Regions from separate parts of the Homo sapiens genome. Here all the other regions are linked to region 1. Evidence: promoter capture Hi-C in 16 types of primary human blood cells and fetal thymus (Javierre and others, 2016). All regions are on one chromosome and are shown on one strand. Each heading gives the region's core, a stretch centred on a gene start or on the middle of the fragment in contact. The rest is flanking DNA. Distances are from core to core; before and after follow the strand shown.

What was found. Contacts are between HindIII fragments. The CHiCAGO score rates a contact against its expected background, and 5 or more counts as called.
Region 2: a fragment that was not itself captured here is called in contact with the fragment with the promoter of APOBEC4 in region 1 in 13 of 17 cell types (naive CD4 T cells, naive B cells, total CD4 T cells and 10 more); the score reaches 10.9 in naive CD4 T cells.
Region 3: a fragment that was not itself captured here is called in contact with the fragment with the promoter of APOBEC4 in region 1 in 2 of 17 cell types (naive CD4 T cells and non-activated CD4 T cells); the score reaches 6.6 in naive CD4 T cells.

The regions. Positions count from the first base shown.
Region 1 is chr1:183,650,905-183,656,003 of GRCh38, forward strand. It overlaps APOBEC4 (apolipoprotein B mRNA editing enzyme catalytic polypeptide like 4), which reads right to left and starts at 2,412. Exons shown (of 2, transcript NM_203454.3): 1 at 2,168-2,412. It also overlaps a transcript of RGL1 not described here. The HindIII fragment of the contact is 5,397 bases long and covers 1-3,204 here.
Region 2 is chr1:183,895,533-183,900,631 of GRCh38, forward strand. RGL1 (ral guanine nucleotide dissociation stimulator like 1) reads left to right here. Exons shown (of 18, transcript NM_001297671.3): 10 at 2,276-2,365; 11 at 4,618-4,704. Among named protein-coding and RNA genes, the nearest start is that of RGL1, 93 kb to the left of the region's middle. RefSeq lists an enhancer at 2,590-2,749. The HindIII fragment of the contact is 9,566 bases long and covers 1-5,099 here.
Region 3 is chr1:183,871,927-183,877,025 of GRCh38, forward strand. The region is part of intron 4 of RGL1 (ral guanine nucleotide dissociation stimulator like 1); the gene reads left to right. Among named protein-coding and RNA genes, the nearest start is that of RGL1, 69 kb to the left of the region's middle. The HindIII fragment of the contact is 1,340 bases long and covers 1,510-2,849 here.

The sequences.
Region 1 (5,099 bases), core at 1,162-3,661:
TTTGACATGCTTATTGGTCTGTGGTATTTATTCTTCTGTGAAATATATTTGATTTTTTACCTATTTTTTGCGTGAAGTTTTCCTTATTGGTTTGCAAGACATTTTTATGCATCAAGAATATTAAATCTGCCACATTTGCTGCTAATATTTTACCTGGTTTATACAGCCTTTTAATTATGCCAATGTTATTTTAATTGCACCAAATTTTACATTTTTATGTGGTCCAGTCTCTACTCCTGTGATTTTTTTTCTTATTGTATTTAGAAATGCCTTCCTCATCAAAGCATAATTAAGTATTCCCCATATTTTCTTCTAGTATTTATGGTTTCATTTTTTACATTTAACTTTGTCAGATAACAAAACTGATAAGGCAGAAAATTTAAATGAGGTAAACTGACCATTGCAACAGAATATATTTTTCACTTTTCAAAATCTCACTTATCATATCACAAGTATGAATACTTGTGCTAATAAATAAATTATGGCCTCTCATATGGAAGTGCTATGTTCACCTTCTGTCTTCCTCAGCCCACATCAGCTCATTCATTGCTGTATTTGATACAGCTTGATCTCTAGCCTGAAACCTGCAGAGTTCCTATGCTAATCCTATCCTGGGCAGAAAATATGTTAAAAGCCTCAATCCAGCTGTAGGTGGAATGTAGCTTTATTCATGTCACCATTATCTTAGTGGCTAATATCCTGCAGTAACTCTGGCACCACATACCCACCAGATTCTAGATTTCTCCTAGCCTCTGCTGTGTCATCTTAATCCATAGGATTGGACATTAGCTTTGTTTTTTCCTTAGTACTATATTTTCCTGATGTAACTGAATTCCTGCCTTGAGGCTTCCTAGACCTTGTCATAGCTTTCCTTCTAGAGAGCTGGATTTAACCCTTGGCAGTGGACGATCTCTTGGAACCTGACGCCATTTCCTGCTTACTCCCGAGCATTGTTTCCTCTCTGGACCTCCTCCTTGCTTAGCCTTCATCAGGCTGGATGGATCTCTCCATCAGAACTTGCCAAAACCAAGCCCAAACTTTCATGCTTTTTAATATTGTGCCCTTGATGTGGTCGACTTATGGGTGGTACACCGGACATCCAGGTTACTGCTCAGATTACAATTTCAACTCACCCATAGACAATTTACAGATTGATTTGGCTAAATGTTATGGAAACAGAACCAAAAGGCACTTTTCTGTCTTTATTACTATTTCTTAAGGTGATGTGTATGTGGAGTTAACTATATATAATGGTCCCATAATTACCCTTTTGGGAAACAAAAGTCTTTGTGTGTTTTTAGATAAAGGTAGCAAAATGGAAACTCCCTATTGCTTTTCTAAGCACGCCTTCCTTTGCACCCCCATCTTCTGTGGCTGTTTTAGCCAGAAATGATACATCATTACTGTCTTTAAGGAGATGGAGAGGACTGTGGCTTTAACACATAGTGGAGGGAGCTCTGTAGTCTCATTCTTGCTGACAACTTTTCAGTGTCAACCAACTATAGTTTCCTATTGGTGAAGTTTTCACTTTTTCAGAGTCTTTCTGGGCTTGTTCTTTGATCACCCTCATCTGAAGAGGAAGCAGGAAAGAACTGTTGCCCTCTTTGAACTCTTAGAGAATTCATGGTTTATTGTATCAATTTGTTATCGACCACAGATTATCTTGTTAACTTTTGGTATCTGTCATTTTATTCTCCCCAACCAGGTGGAAATGTACCCTGTTTAGGCCCAGGACCTACCTTAGCAACCTTGATTGGCTCACAAGCCAGGTTGCTTAAGACTTGTTTCCCCAGCAGCTGGTGTCCCTACTTCCTGCCTAGCCCTTTTCCTTTTGCTTTGTCTGTGCTTGGGAAATACATGTTATACTCTGTAGAGCAGATTTGCTGGCAGTAAGAACAGAGATGTGTAGAGCCCAGCGTGCTGGAGGGCTCTCTGCATCTGGCTGTGAGTGGCCCCTGGACTGGGACCGTGGGAGGACAGCTTTCCATAGTTTAACATAAATGAACCACACCATAAGGACAATCTGCTCTCATTTCACTCAACTAGGATTTAGTGAGTACTGTTAAAGCACAGTTTGCACTGGAGTAATTGGAGAATGGAGTTTGCCCTTCACAATCTGTGCACAATCTGTTAGCAGCTAAAAACAAATGTTAGCAGTTATAATTACCATCAATTTGTCTCCAGGCTTGGATCACATTCCAGGTGTTAGAAGAGATGGTCCATTTCCTTTTTTTTCTCCTTTAAGTCCCATGCCCTGTTTCAAGTAGCTTCAGAAGGCAATTGTGCTGTAAAGATTCACCTTGTAATGGGTTCAGGACTCTTTCACAGTTTGTGTCTATTCGTTCATTTGAACTTTGCTGTTCCAAGTTAGAAAGCCCTTGCTGAGGTGTGGCTACCTCTAAGAACACTGTTGATTGGGTGCCATGGTAACGTTTGCAAAGTAGCTACTGCTAGGATACAGCTCTGACACTTATTACTTTATTTGCATATCAAGCCACCTGTTCCAAAGATGAAAATATACAGGACTGCATATCCCAGTCTGGGTAAAAGGATAATAGCTGACTGTTGAAGAGAACATGTTGCAGTTTTTCTCCTGCTAGCTGAAGAATCAAGTTCTGAGGGCCTGCTCCTCAGCACCTTTCTCCTGGTCTAGAGTAGGTGCCAGGCCTGGCGGTTCTGTTGCCTGCGTGGGTGCCAGGGCTTCTCCTTGGGAGGCTTGCCCTCTGTGAGAGGGAGCAGAGAGTTGACTTCCTCCAAGAGGCCCATAGTCCCTGAAGGGGGTGTTTTTGATTCTGTCTAAACCTAGGCTATGTGTTAGCGGTTTCCCTCCTCTTAGAAATTGCCTGGAAGACTCTTGCTATTGGTATGTATGTGGTTCCCTCCAGTTTAAGACAAGATTTGTTCCAGGATCGGTTGTAGCCCCTTCTCTGTGGCTAACGGAAGAGCCACTTGTCCTTCTCCATTCTTTTCCTTAGTCTCCCTTGACCCCCACATCATCTCCTAGACACAAGGCACATTGATAGTCACAATTCACTGTCAATCACTCTGGATTATTCCCTCATTCCCCTTTCCCAGGCCACCTGAAGGAGTGAGTGGGGATTGCTATTGTGTACATTCCAGTAATAACTATTGGCTGTAAGCAGACATACTCTAAAAATAACTCAGGGATACTGAGCACCCAGAGGGCACCTTCTGTCTTCTCGAAGCTTCGCCACGCCTGTTTCCACTGTCAGACTTCCAGTCTGCACCACAGCACACATCCTTTCTCATCCAGAGTGCTCCTACTAGACGAGATGTTTTTGTCTCCTAAGGGCCTCAGGTGTATTCATGAACTCCTCAGCTGGTTATTTTCAGTTTCATCTTCCTTGGTGCTTGCTCTGGCACATGGTCACTGCTGCATCCTGTCCCTTCCCCACAGTTTGCCATGGGTCATCCCTTTTTTCTCATTGCTTGCATCTTCTAACTGAATGAACTTGTAAATATGGAACTGAAAGTCAATCCTCATAGCTCATCTTTTATTTAATCCTAATAAATGACAATCTATTGCAAACATTACTTTAAAAATATTACTTATCAAAAGCTGGGTGAAAGGATAATAGCTGACTGTTGAAGAGAACATGTTGGGGTTTTTCTCCCGCTAGCTGAAGAATCAAGTTCTGAGGGCCTGCTCAGTTCTGTAAGAAAGTATTAGCTGTCTGACAGGTTCCAGTGAGGGGAGGAAAAGACAAAAAATATAGTCCCCAAATCTGCACCAGCATCCCATGTGCACTGTGCACCTTCCATGGTGGATTAGATGCTCAGCAAATGATATACCTATGGAAGGTTAAGCCTAAAGAAACAGGAAAAATGAGCCTTTGTCCACTAGCACATTTATCAATTGCATTTTAGGGTGATTTTAGGGATAGGCAACCCCAATTAGTCATTATTCTTTAAAGGTAGTTGTCTGTTAGATGTAGGAAGACTCCAAGGAATGTTAAGTTGGCAACATTCCATTTAGGTTGCACAGAATGACTTTTAAGACTAAACTTCATCAGGAGGAAATGAAAGGCCTTTACCATGGTTCCTGTTCACAGTGAAATTGACATGTATTGGAAAGGAGATGCTTGGAAGAAATGTCTAGCTTCCCCAACAGACTCCTTTCTTCTCTTTTCTGTCTTCCTTTGTTAATCTGCCATGTTTCATCTTCATTCAGATGAGTTATGATGTATATTATTTATGTAGAGATATTATGAGATTATAATGAAGAAGATTTACAAAGACTAAACTATCCTGCAATGATCTAAATTTTTAAGAGACATTTACTCAGTTTGGCACTCCAAAAATTATTAATCTATGTTCTGACAACCCAGTTTGGGGTATATCCAAGATGGCTTGTGTGTTGCTAGTTACTGCTTATAAGGCAACTTTCTCTTTGGGTGGCAGGAAGTAAAATATTTATAAGTTATTGCTAAAATGTTAAAGTTTTATTTGAACCTACTGTACCCAAGTAATTATATAATTCATCACTTTAGTAGCAGTTTGGTTGACACTGAACAACAATGCTCAAATTCATGTAGCAGTAACAAACTACGTGATAAAAGGAACTGAATTTAGAAAGCAAGCTTCAAGTAAAGATCAGAAGATTAAGTAGATTTCATGGAGCTCACTAAGGAGTTAGATGGGAAAGATGAGATAAGAAAAGCACTGGAGTTGAGACCAAAAGGAGACGAAAAAGCAGAGGGTGGATCTTCGAGCTCGGGGGGTTATAAACAAGATGGCCACAAGGTGGCAGCACAGTCTTAACAGCAGAGAGCTTTCTGTAGGGCCACCCTTAATTTGCTAACACCACAGACTTTCTCTTAGAATTCCTCCATGTTGATTTTCCTCATTATCCTAGGGGAAACAGCAGCAAATGTTTAGAATTAAAAATGACTCCTAAAACTTAAGCTGAGGAAAAGTATAGGGTAAAGGCAGCATCTTTACTTCCAGAGACTGTTTAGATGCTCTAAAGAAGGCTTCCAACTCTCTGTGGGAAAGGACCAATTGACATTTCCAAACCATATGTTAAACAGTGATGGGAGGCCATTGTTTTGGGCTAAGCTTGTACACTAGGCCCCAGC
Region 2 (5,099 bases), core at 702-3,201, 240 kb after region 1:
GACATGAGTACAGCAGAAAACAAGAGGATAACTTTGACAAAAAGAAGAATCACTAAGAGAATATGAGAACAGCAGAGGAGGCAGGGGGAGAGAATGAGTGATACAGTCACAAAAACCTATGAAAACTTTCAAGAAGGTTCAAGGGATTGGTGTTGTGCGACATTGCAGAGTAGGAGATTTGGGGCTGAGGAAGGAAAAACTGAAACTGCTGGATGTGGCAGGTAAGTGGATTTTCAGTTGACACCTCATTTGGAATAATAGGGACTCGTCGGTCTTTTTAGATCTCTAGCAGGGATGGAATCTCATTCTCATGAAATCATAAAGTCATGGAATCAACAAGTCTTGTAGCTCCCCATCTCAGGCGTTTCTCTCTCCTATCTAATGAGGAGGTTGTCTTAAGTGCTCTTTTGAGATCCCTTTCACCTCTGTTATTCTGTGATTCTTAGGAGCCTTTGAACTTTTCAGAAATTCTCTTTAGGAATTTTAGCCATGTCTACAATAACTTATGATACATTATTCCTCTGCCCATAACTGACATACTGGAGGGAGACCAGAAGGACCTACACACCGGAAAGAGGTGGGCACTCTTATTCAAGTCAGACATAATTGATTTCTCACTCTAAGCAAATTCTCAAGAATTTCGGAGGACTCACAACTATCTAGCACAGGAAAGGCGCATATTAGGCTGCTTTCTTTTTTTTAGAGGTGGGGTCTCACTATGTTGCTCAAGTTGGACTTGAACTCCTGGGCTCAAGCGACCCTCCTGCCTCAGCCTTCTGAGTAGCTAGGATTACAGGCGCATGCCGCCATGTCCAGTATAGGCTATTTTCATTCATCCCTGTGAAAAACTATGAATGGGAGATCATTAAATAGTGGCTCTCTTTATTATCATTTGTGATGGGAAGAACTTAAATAGGTAATGAGTCACTGTGGGTTCTGTCCCAGTAGTGTACCTGGGACCTGAGTTAAGGCTGAGAGATGGAACATGTTGATGCTCTATCACTATCAGCAAGGCCAAGCCACTGAAAAAAACCCTTTTGTGGTTGTACAGTAGTGGAAGGTCACGTGCTATGGTAATACATAAATCTCAGGAAAAGTGACTAAGGAAAAACTAGTGTAGAAGTTATATACTACTGAATTGTGCAATTTACCCCCCCATTCATGCAGTTCCTGGAAAATGAGAACTTAACAAGACCCCAAAACCGCAAAAGCACTTAATGTTCAGTCAGCAAACTCATGATTACTCATTATATAGAAGAGTTTGTTGTTACAATAGACAGGAGGAGAGAAAGGGTAGCCATGTGTCCTCAGGCACCAGGAGGAAGGATTGATTTGTAAGAGTTCCAAACCTGAGAGGCAATTTAGAAGAACTGACTGGGGGCTGGGGATGTGTGAAAGTTCGACTTTTATGGATTGGTCATGTAGTACAATATTGGACTTCCTCAGAAAACTTCCGGTGCAAAAGTTTCATTTAGCTAAGAAATGCTACAGAAGTAGTCCCTTTCTTTCACAGAATGCTGGCACATCCATTTCAGGCCAAGATCGAGAAATCACAAAATGTACTGAGGAAGTCGATCTTTGTTTTCAGGATATCTGATTACTTTGAGTTTAATTTGGGATCTGTAAAAATGTCTTCATTTATGAGAATTGCCTGGCTTGTATTGATGATTGCTTTCATAACCAAATCAGGTGATCTTCTTACAAAGTAAGGGGAAGGCCAGGTGTGGTGGCTGGCTCATGCCTGTAATCCCAGCACTTGGGGAAGCTGAGGCAGGTGGATGATCTGAGATCAGGAGTTCAAGACCAGCCTGGCCAACATGGCGAAACCCCATCTCTACTAAAAACAAAAAATAAAATAAAATATAAAAATTAGCCAGGTGGTGGCGCATTCCTCTAATCCCAGCTACTCGGGAGGCTGAGGCAGGAGAATCACTTGAACCTGGGAGGCAGAGGTTGCAGTGAGCTGAGATTGCGCCACTGCACTCCAGCCTTCCCAGCAGAGTGAGACTTCGTCTCAAAAAAAAAAAAAACAAAGTTGGGGGAAGAACAAGAAAATCCAAGTCCACCAGCCTCGTTATAAATAGGCAACTTGCAACAAGCCAGCCAAGTATTTGCATAATATACATCGTGAGAGCCTGCTGGAGGCCTCTTCATTTTGCATGGTGTTCCGAGCGAGAGTTATGCAGGGTTGTGTGCGAGAAACTAGATGCCTCTTTACTTCTTACCATTGTGGCATCCTGTATCAATTCCCTCTGTGTGCATTTCTGTTTCTCAGGAAGGAACCTCAAAATTTGCAAACCTGGACAGCAGTGTGAAAGAAAACCAGAAGCGTACCCAGAGGCGGCTGCAGCTCCAGAAGGACATGGTATGTCTGGCCCTCGTCTTCCCTGACAGCTCACAGAGGAGAAGGGCCGTGTGCGTCTGGGCTCCCACATGGCACTGGCACCTTCAGTCAACAGGGCACCCAGGCTTTCAGAAAGGGTCTCCCATTCTCTACCCCATTTGTTCTCAGCAGCCCTGGGAGGTCTATAGGAGAGAGATGATTACCCTCATTCAACTAGTAGGAAGTAAGCACTGGGTGGCAAATCCTGTTTTCTGGCAAAGTTGTTTTCTGAAGGTGAGGGGGAGTCTACAGCAGGTCGACTTCCTCCCTCTTGCAGTCTCTTCCGCCCCCTCCTGCACTTAGAAGCTGCTCCACCTTGGCCTGAGGGCCTCCTGAGCTTCCTACTGTAGTCAGCTTCTGATACATGGTGACCAAGGAGAAAGAGTGTCTTCTCCACAGGGCCCTGGTCCTTGTACTCAGAGATCTTTTCATTTGTTCTAATCTAGCCATTGCCCAGCTCTCCTTACTAATCCCAAGGCTAACCAAATCTTTATAGTTTTTCAATATTTAAAGGAGCATCATGCCTCCCTCCTGAAGACTGAAAGATAGGTATTATCAACTTTAGCTTCATTTTAAACTTCTGACTGTTAGCATAAAGTGTGGAAGACCAGAGGGAGGAGATTAGAGACTGACAAACTCTAAATATTCTGCTTTAAGAGGGTTTTCTCTTTCTTTGGAAAGCTCAACGTAAGTAAGAAATGTTTTTGAATGATAGGACTCTTCCGCAACATGAAGCCTATAAAACATTCACAGTGTTACAAACTTTTTTGGTTGTTCAAAGACAAGCTAAAAATAGCTGTTACCAAAAAAATAGATTATTTTAGTACAGGATGAGACCTTGTACACAGAATGGGAAGGACACACTGCAGCTGACAGTGAGTTCCTGAAGGACAAAACCCTCCTTGGTATGAACCTCACAAAGCAGTTCTGGCTGAGGAAGCAGCCAGCCTCATGTCAAGCAGCCTGGCTTTACCCTGTTTGAGGCTTTGTGTTCTGCCAAAATTTCCAGAATTGGCTTGATGAGATTTAGGATAAGGGATCCATGGGGACCGCTTTTTACTTTTCCTTTAGGATGTTTAGTGCCTTGGTGGCTTACTGAAGAAGAGAGATGATTTTAAAGGAGATTTAGTGAAATGAATATAGTGTATCCCTGCAGTTGTAGGTAGAAGTGCCTCCACCTTCATTTCCAACTTTTTATTCTGGAATAAGTTTAGATTTACAGAAAAGCTGCAAAGCTAGAAGTGCAGTTTCCCTCATTGTTAACATCTTCTAAAACCATAGCACATTTGTCAATACTAAGAAACTGACACTGGCATAATACTATTAACTAAAATCTAGACTTTGTTTGGATTTCACCAGTTTTCCACTAGTATCTTCTTATCTGTTCCAGGACCCAATCCGGCATACCAACTGCATTTTGTTGTCTGTCACCCCTGTCTCTTCAGGTCTACGACAGTGTTTTCTTGACTGTTTTTTATGACCTTGGTTGTCTTAAGGGGTCTATCCAGGTATTCTGTAGAATGTTCCACAGTTTGAGGTTGTCTGCTGTTTTCTAGTGATTAGACTGAGCTTCTGGATTTTTAGAAAGAATATCACAGAGTAAAGTGCCCTTCTCATCACATCACATCAAGGAGTGAATGAATGGTTTCAGCGTGACATCTGGTGTCATGTTGATGGTGACACGAATGATGTTGATCTTTATTACTTGGTTAAGGAAGAGTTTGCCAGGTTCTTCCTCAGAAGTTACTGTTTTTCTCTTTCCCTCCTCTATTATTTGAGAGTTAGTCACCAAGTCTAGCCCAAGGGGTTATATTAATAGTGATGCCCCATGCTTTTGTGGTACATACTTCTCTGTGTACAACAGCCAATGGTGAGGCAATGACTATCCAGTGCCATCCCCAACTACCAGGAATGTCCCCATGCTCTGAAAGAGAACAGACATCCTTCTCACTTGAGCCAAAGCAAAACATAAACCCCACAGTCAACACTTTTGAACAGATGTGTATGATCTCCTGGCTTTGAGGCTTGGTTTTCATGATTTCACAAGTTAGATATTAGATCATGGAGTTTCTATCCTATTTGTGTAGAAATTTAAAAAATGTTATTCATGGAGGTTAGCACCACTGGCCCGCAGTTAGGCCTTGAATACATCCATTTGCTCCAGCTTGAAGATTCCTAAAACCCCTCAACTTTTCAATGACAATAAAGACAGTTTTGCTTTGGATGCTCTTCAGGGTGTGATGCAGGGAACTGTGCCCTACCTGGGCACCTTCCTGACTGACCTGACCATGCTTGACACTGCCCTTCAGGACTACATCGAGGTGAGTTCCATGTGGGTGGTGTGATCGGGCCTGCAGCCTTCCCACTGGATACCCTAAAGAGTAGTTAACTTCTCTTAGTATCTTTTGAAGGTCCAAAAGTACATGGCATTGTGCTAGCTGTTAGGAGGAATACAAAGAATAACACCAAAGACTAACACCAGAAGTGGCTCAAAATCCAGTGGAAGTAATTAATATATCAAAATAAGCAGTGAACGATAGTAATAATCGAAATTCAAACAAATGCATTGAGAGAACATGGGAGATGACAATTATTATTATTTTTTTGAGATGGAGTTTTGCTCTTGTTGTCCAAGCTGGAGTGCAATGGCACGATCTTGGCTCACTGCAATCTCTGCCTCTCGGGTTCAAGCAATTCTCCTGCCTCAGCCTCCCAA
Region 3 (5,099 bases), core at 930-3,429, 220 kb after region 1:
CTGGATGTTGGAATCTTTGCCTCACGGTGATTTCTGATGGTAGGGCTAGACTGATTATATAAGGTGTGCCACATTTATTTCTAGGATTCCTAAATTGGCCACTATTTATCAATTAGGAAACTCACTTTCTATGACAGAAGAAAACATTTCTGCCTATATTCATTCTACCCGTGCCCTTTTCCTGCTGACATTTTTACACGATAAAATGCTATCTTTTTAAATAATAAAATCTGAACCAGATGGAAAAAGTGAATTGTCTCTAGGGCAGATTTATTATAGTCATTGAATTCAGAAATGAAGAGAATGTAAAGAAGGGATATTAACCATATAGAGCTTTTACAACACGAATCTTCATTCTCTGAATTTTATATGAGATGGCCATATCTCCCTCTCTCTATATATAACTTTATTTAAAGAGATTTAAAACTCCTCAAGAAATGATGCTTTATTTCTTTCCTTTAATGACTATTATAAGGTTGAAATTGTTTCTGTTTTCTTTTCTTTAATTGAATCTCATCAGTTTCCTTCTGGAGTGCCAAGTTTTGTTTTCTCAAACTCTCTACCATAGTACTACTTCAAATTGTTGAAATCGTTCTGCTTTCATTTCCACATATTCAGAAGATACGTATATTGTTCTTGTAATCTTTTCCCAGAAGTTGTAAACAGTGACACCAGATTTCAGTCACTGGTAAAGGATCATGTAAATAGTAGTAATCCAAGACATCGGATACACTTTAAAGAGAAAGGAAAGGAGTTAAAGGAAGTTGGCTGTGTTACATTACTGCCTCAGAAACTTCACAGTGGAAAGTTAAAAAATCTTCCCAGAGAGTTTGCAATCAATATTCATTCCTGCAAATTCAGATGCCCTAAGAAGGCAATTGAAATTAATTGGAGTGATTATAACAAAAATGGGGAAAAGGAGGAGGGGTGAAGAACAGCAAAAACAAGATTTAAAACTCCAATTTAGAAGAATTAAAAGTTATAATGTGAAAGGAATTTTTTTTAAAGTGAAACAAAAGAAATGAAGAAGTGATATGCCATATCGAAGAGTCTGGTATTGTCTTTAAAATATCCCTACAGGACAAAGAAGAATAAAAACCATAGTTTTACAAGTCATTAGCATTCTAAGTCAAGTCTGCATTTTAGGGACATGGGTAGAAAGCCCTGAGCAGAAACTGATGTTCTAATAGTTGAGGAAGAATAAAACAACATTGATAATCAATGGCTCAAAAAGAAGACAGATCAATCATACGAGTATCTCCTAGGGTTTTCTACATTAAAGAATGTCTCTTTTAGAAAGGAAAACAGACATCACAATTAGACTGTATTGTTTGATTCCCTGCACAGCATTGTAAACAAAGAAAATGATGACACTGCCCTTGCCACCACCATTGGCTACAATTTGTGGTATGCTTACAAGGCATTCTGCTAAGTACTTTATATTTGTGTCTTCTTCAACCATCACAAATATGCTGAGATATTGTCCTCACTTTATAGGATATAAAGTGAAGCTTCAGAGAAGTTATGTGTTTTGACTAAGATCAGGCAGGTGGTTAAGTGACAGGTCTGATATTTGAACTCCCGTCCAACTGACTCCAAGACCTGGGTGGGAAGCCCAGGCATGCCATTTATAGAAGAGCATTGGGATCTCGGATACTCAAGATTTTTCTCCGCATTTGCCTATATCACCATAATAAGACTGCGGAAGTACATGAAGAACTAGATTACAATATCATTGTTGTGACTAATGTTTTAGATTGTTATTATTCTGAGATCTTTTGTCATTATTTCCATTGCTCTATGCTGTTTTGCCTGGCTGTTGCTTTATTATTGAATGAACACCCTGAGCAAGGTTCGCACACAGCTGTTAGAAATGTGGAAGCTAGACCTTTTTCCTGGGGAAGGAGATGGGTTGAAGAATGTGAGGAAACAAGACCAAATTAGGCCCATCAAAGGAGAACCTGCTTCCTGTTCCTTGTGCCTCGTAGCATCTGTCACTACCAACGGAAACTCAGTTCTAGTGGTGAAAACTATAGAAGGCCTTAGCCATTTTTTTCAATAGAGTTCTATTTATAACATGAAAACTCCCTTCTTGGACTGTGGGGAATGAGTTATTGAGGTCCTTGAAAGATAATTTTGGTGACTGGCGATGTCCTTTTCTAATAATAGCTAGAATTTATTGACTACTTAGTAGGAATGGTCCCTGTGTTAAGTACTGTACATACTTGTTAAATCCTCATAATGATTATGTTTTATTATTCTTATTTTACAGAGGAGGAACCTGGGGCGTAGGTTAAGGAACATGTCCAAGGCTACACAGTGAATAAATGAAAGAGCTGGGATTTAACCGAGGCCTTAACCTCTGTGCTGCATGACCTTTACTATTTTTCCTCTGATAAAAATGAAAATATTTCTCTTAAGTACTTAGCTTGGGAATGAAAGACAGGTGTGTAAATAACCTTGACTTTGGGTAATTGGCTTCAGGCTTATCCATCCTACTCCGGGCCCTCTCCCACTCACATTTACTGTCTTTCTGTATGTCTTCCTTTCATAATCTTTTTCTTCCTCCTTCTTGCCGTGGAGGTTTTTTTTTTTCTCTTCTCTCCCTTCCCCATAGTCCCTGCGTTGCCCTTGCCTTCTTAGTGCTTAAATCTGACTCTGGCTTTGTTGGCATTATTTCCCTGGTCTTTTCTCAATCTCTCTTTCACGTCTCCTCCTAGTATTTGAATCCCTGTTTACCAACAGCACTGAAATGTGACAATGTAAAGTGTAAAAAAGCAACGCAGGACAACCTTGACAAGTCCAGATAATAATATTTTCATCCTTTCCAGGAAAAAAACAAAGAGGAAAGCTTTGTATCTTTCTTTGTTCCTTCTCATCAGGAAAATCATCTAGCTGGAGGTCTCAGAGGCAGCTTCTATCTGGCAACCTTCCCTGAAACAGAGCAAAACTGTTCTATGATTAGGAGAACAAGGTGGAGGGTCCGGCCCAGAGTCAGGGTCAAGGTTGACTTAGGCTTCAGTTCTTGAAGGACAAAGTGTATTAGATCCTGCCCTCAGAGCTTGGCAGAAGTTACTTCATTGCTTGAAAGGCCCACCGTCTGCGTAAATCTTCTTACCTTTTCATTATCTGCAGCGAAGACAAGATCCAGTTCTCAGAGAATGTATTAAAATAGAAAAACATTTTGCTGCTTTTGAAAAATGGTTCCATGTCTTATTTTCTGCTGATGATTAAGTACAAAAAATTATTATTTCAAATAGATTGCTGGGGAGAGAAAAGAACTCTAGATGGATAGTGTTATTCTTTTTGTCACGGTAATCCTATTTCTTGGCTCAGAAGTTACACATCATGGGAGAGGTGACTTCATACCTGAAAAAATTTGTATTAAACATTTGACCAATTATAGAGTATTTTACTGCCTATGGAATGTTAATATGATTTAATACGTTTACCTAAAATCTGCATTCATTAAAAAGTCTGTGATTTGCGCATAATCGCTGCCTAAATGCTTGCCTCAGCCCTCTCTGCATTGCGTGCCTGAAGATCGTGGGGTGGCTAGAAGTTCTGAACCATTTTCTTTTATCTCTCAGCCAAGGTGCATCTGTCTAATGTCTTCTAAGCAGGTGTTATTAGGTGTGATTTCTGGTTGGCTGAGAAATCAATGAGTGGCCAGCTGCGGTGGCTCATGCCTGTAATCCTAGCACTTTGGGAGGCCAAGGCAGGTGGATCACCTGAGGTCAGGAGTTTGAAACCAGCCTGGCCAACATGGTGAAACCTGGTCTCTACTAAAAAGAAAAAAAAAATTAGCCAGGCATGGTGGCACGTGCCTGTAATCCCAGCTACTCGGGAGGCTGAGGCAGGAGAATCGCTTGAACCTGGGAGGCGAAGATTGCAGTGAGCCGAGATTGCGCCACTGCACTCCAGCCTGGGCGACAGCTCTGTCTCAAAAAAAAAAAAAAAAAAAAATCAATGAGTATAGCAGATTTCATCATGCTCCTTTCCCCCAACTCTTTATATTTTTTAGTTTAACAGATCTTTAAGTCCTCTACAAGTGTTTAGCTCTTTCACCGCAGAACCTCTGCCTCATTGCTGCCCCAGAATCCTCATCCCACTGACTCCTAACCCTCAAGATCTCAGCTTTCACATCATTTCCTCAGGGAGATCCTCCCTAAAGCCTTGACCAGGTCAGCTCCCTCTGAAGTTCAGTGCTTCCCTGGGACCCTGGACTTCCTGTATTGTGATGCTCATCGCATAAATTGTTTTTGTGACTCTGGGAAATAAAGGGCACTCAACAAATATTAGTTTAATTGGTGAATGAATTTCTTAGAAGCAAAAGTCCTAGAAGCTGCTTTAGTATGTTTCAAACAGTGACATCTGAGCATGTCTTCCTTCCCCTATAGACGATTGCAGTCGGTTGGAAAAGAATCACACACTACAAAGTTTTGTATGTTGCCAAGAATGCCTGAGGTAGAAAACTCAATTTTGGTTGTCTCCTCTGCTATCAGTTTTGGGCCCCTGGCCTTGGCCACCTACCCGGCATACTTGCCCTTAGGACCGAGGAGTTTTGTTCTGTGAGCCACCAAAGATTACTTTGGAAAAGGAAGTCACATACTGGCTTTTCTCCAGACTGAATTTAGGTTATGTCACAATTGTAATCATCCAGTTTGGCTTCAGGAATTACTTCTGCCTTTACAAGTTATTCAAGAATCATCTCTTGCAGTTAATACTACAGTTTGATGTCTTTGATTTGTCCTAGAGAGGATACCTCAAGGTATATGTATGTGGGCACATATGTGTGTGTGTGTCTTGTGTGTGTGTTCACAGCAGCCATCTTCTTCCAGCAGGCCTGAAGTCACACATGTCATAGCATGGCTTGTATTCTGTGTCATTCTTCCTGTGAGAGGTGGCAGATTCTTTGAGTCAATTCCTGTGAGTGCTGATGGATTTTCGCTGAGCCATTTTACCTTTTCAATCCCTTCCTTCTATGACTTCTGGCAAGTAGTTGTAAGACTGTTGATAATTATGTTTCTCTCCAGGTATCTCAAAATGTCCTTATTGACATTATATCATTTGAAATCACAACTGATCAGTGTCAGGTA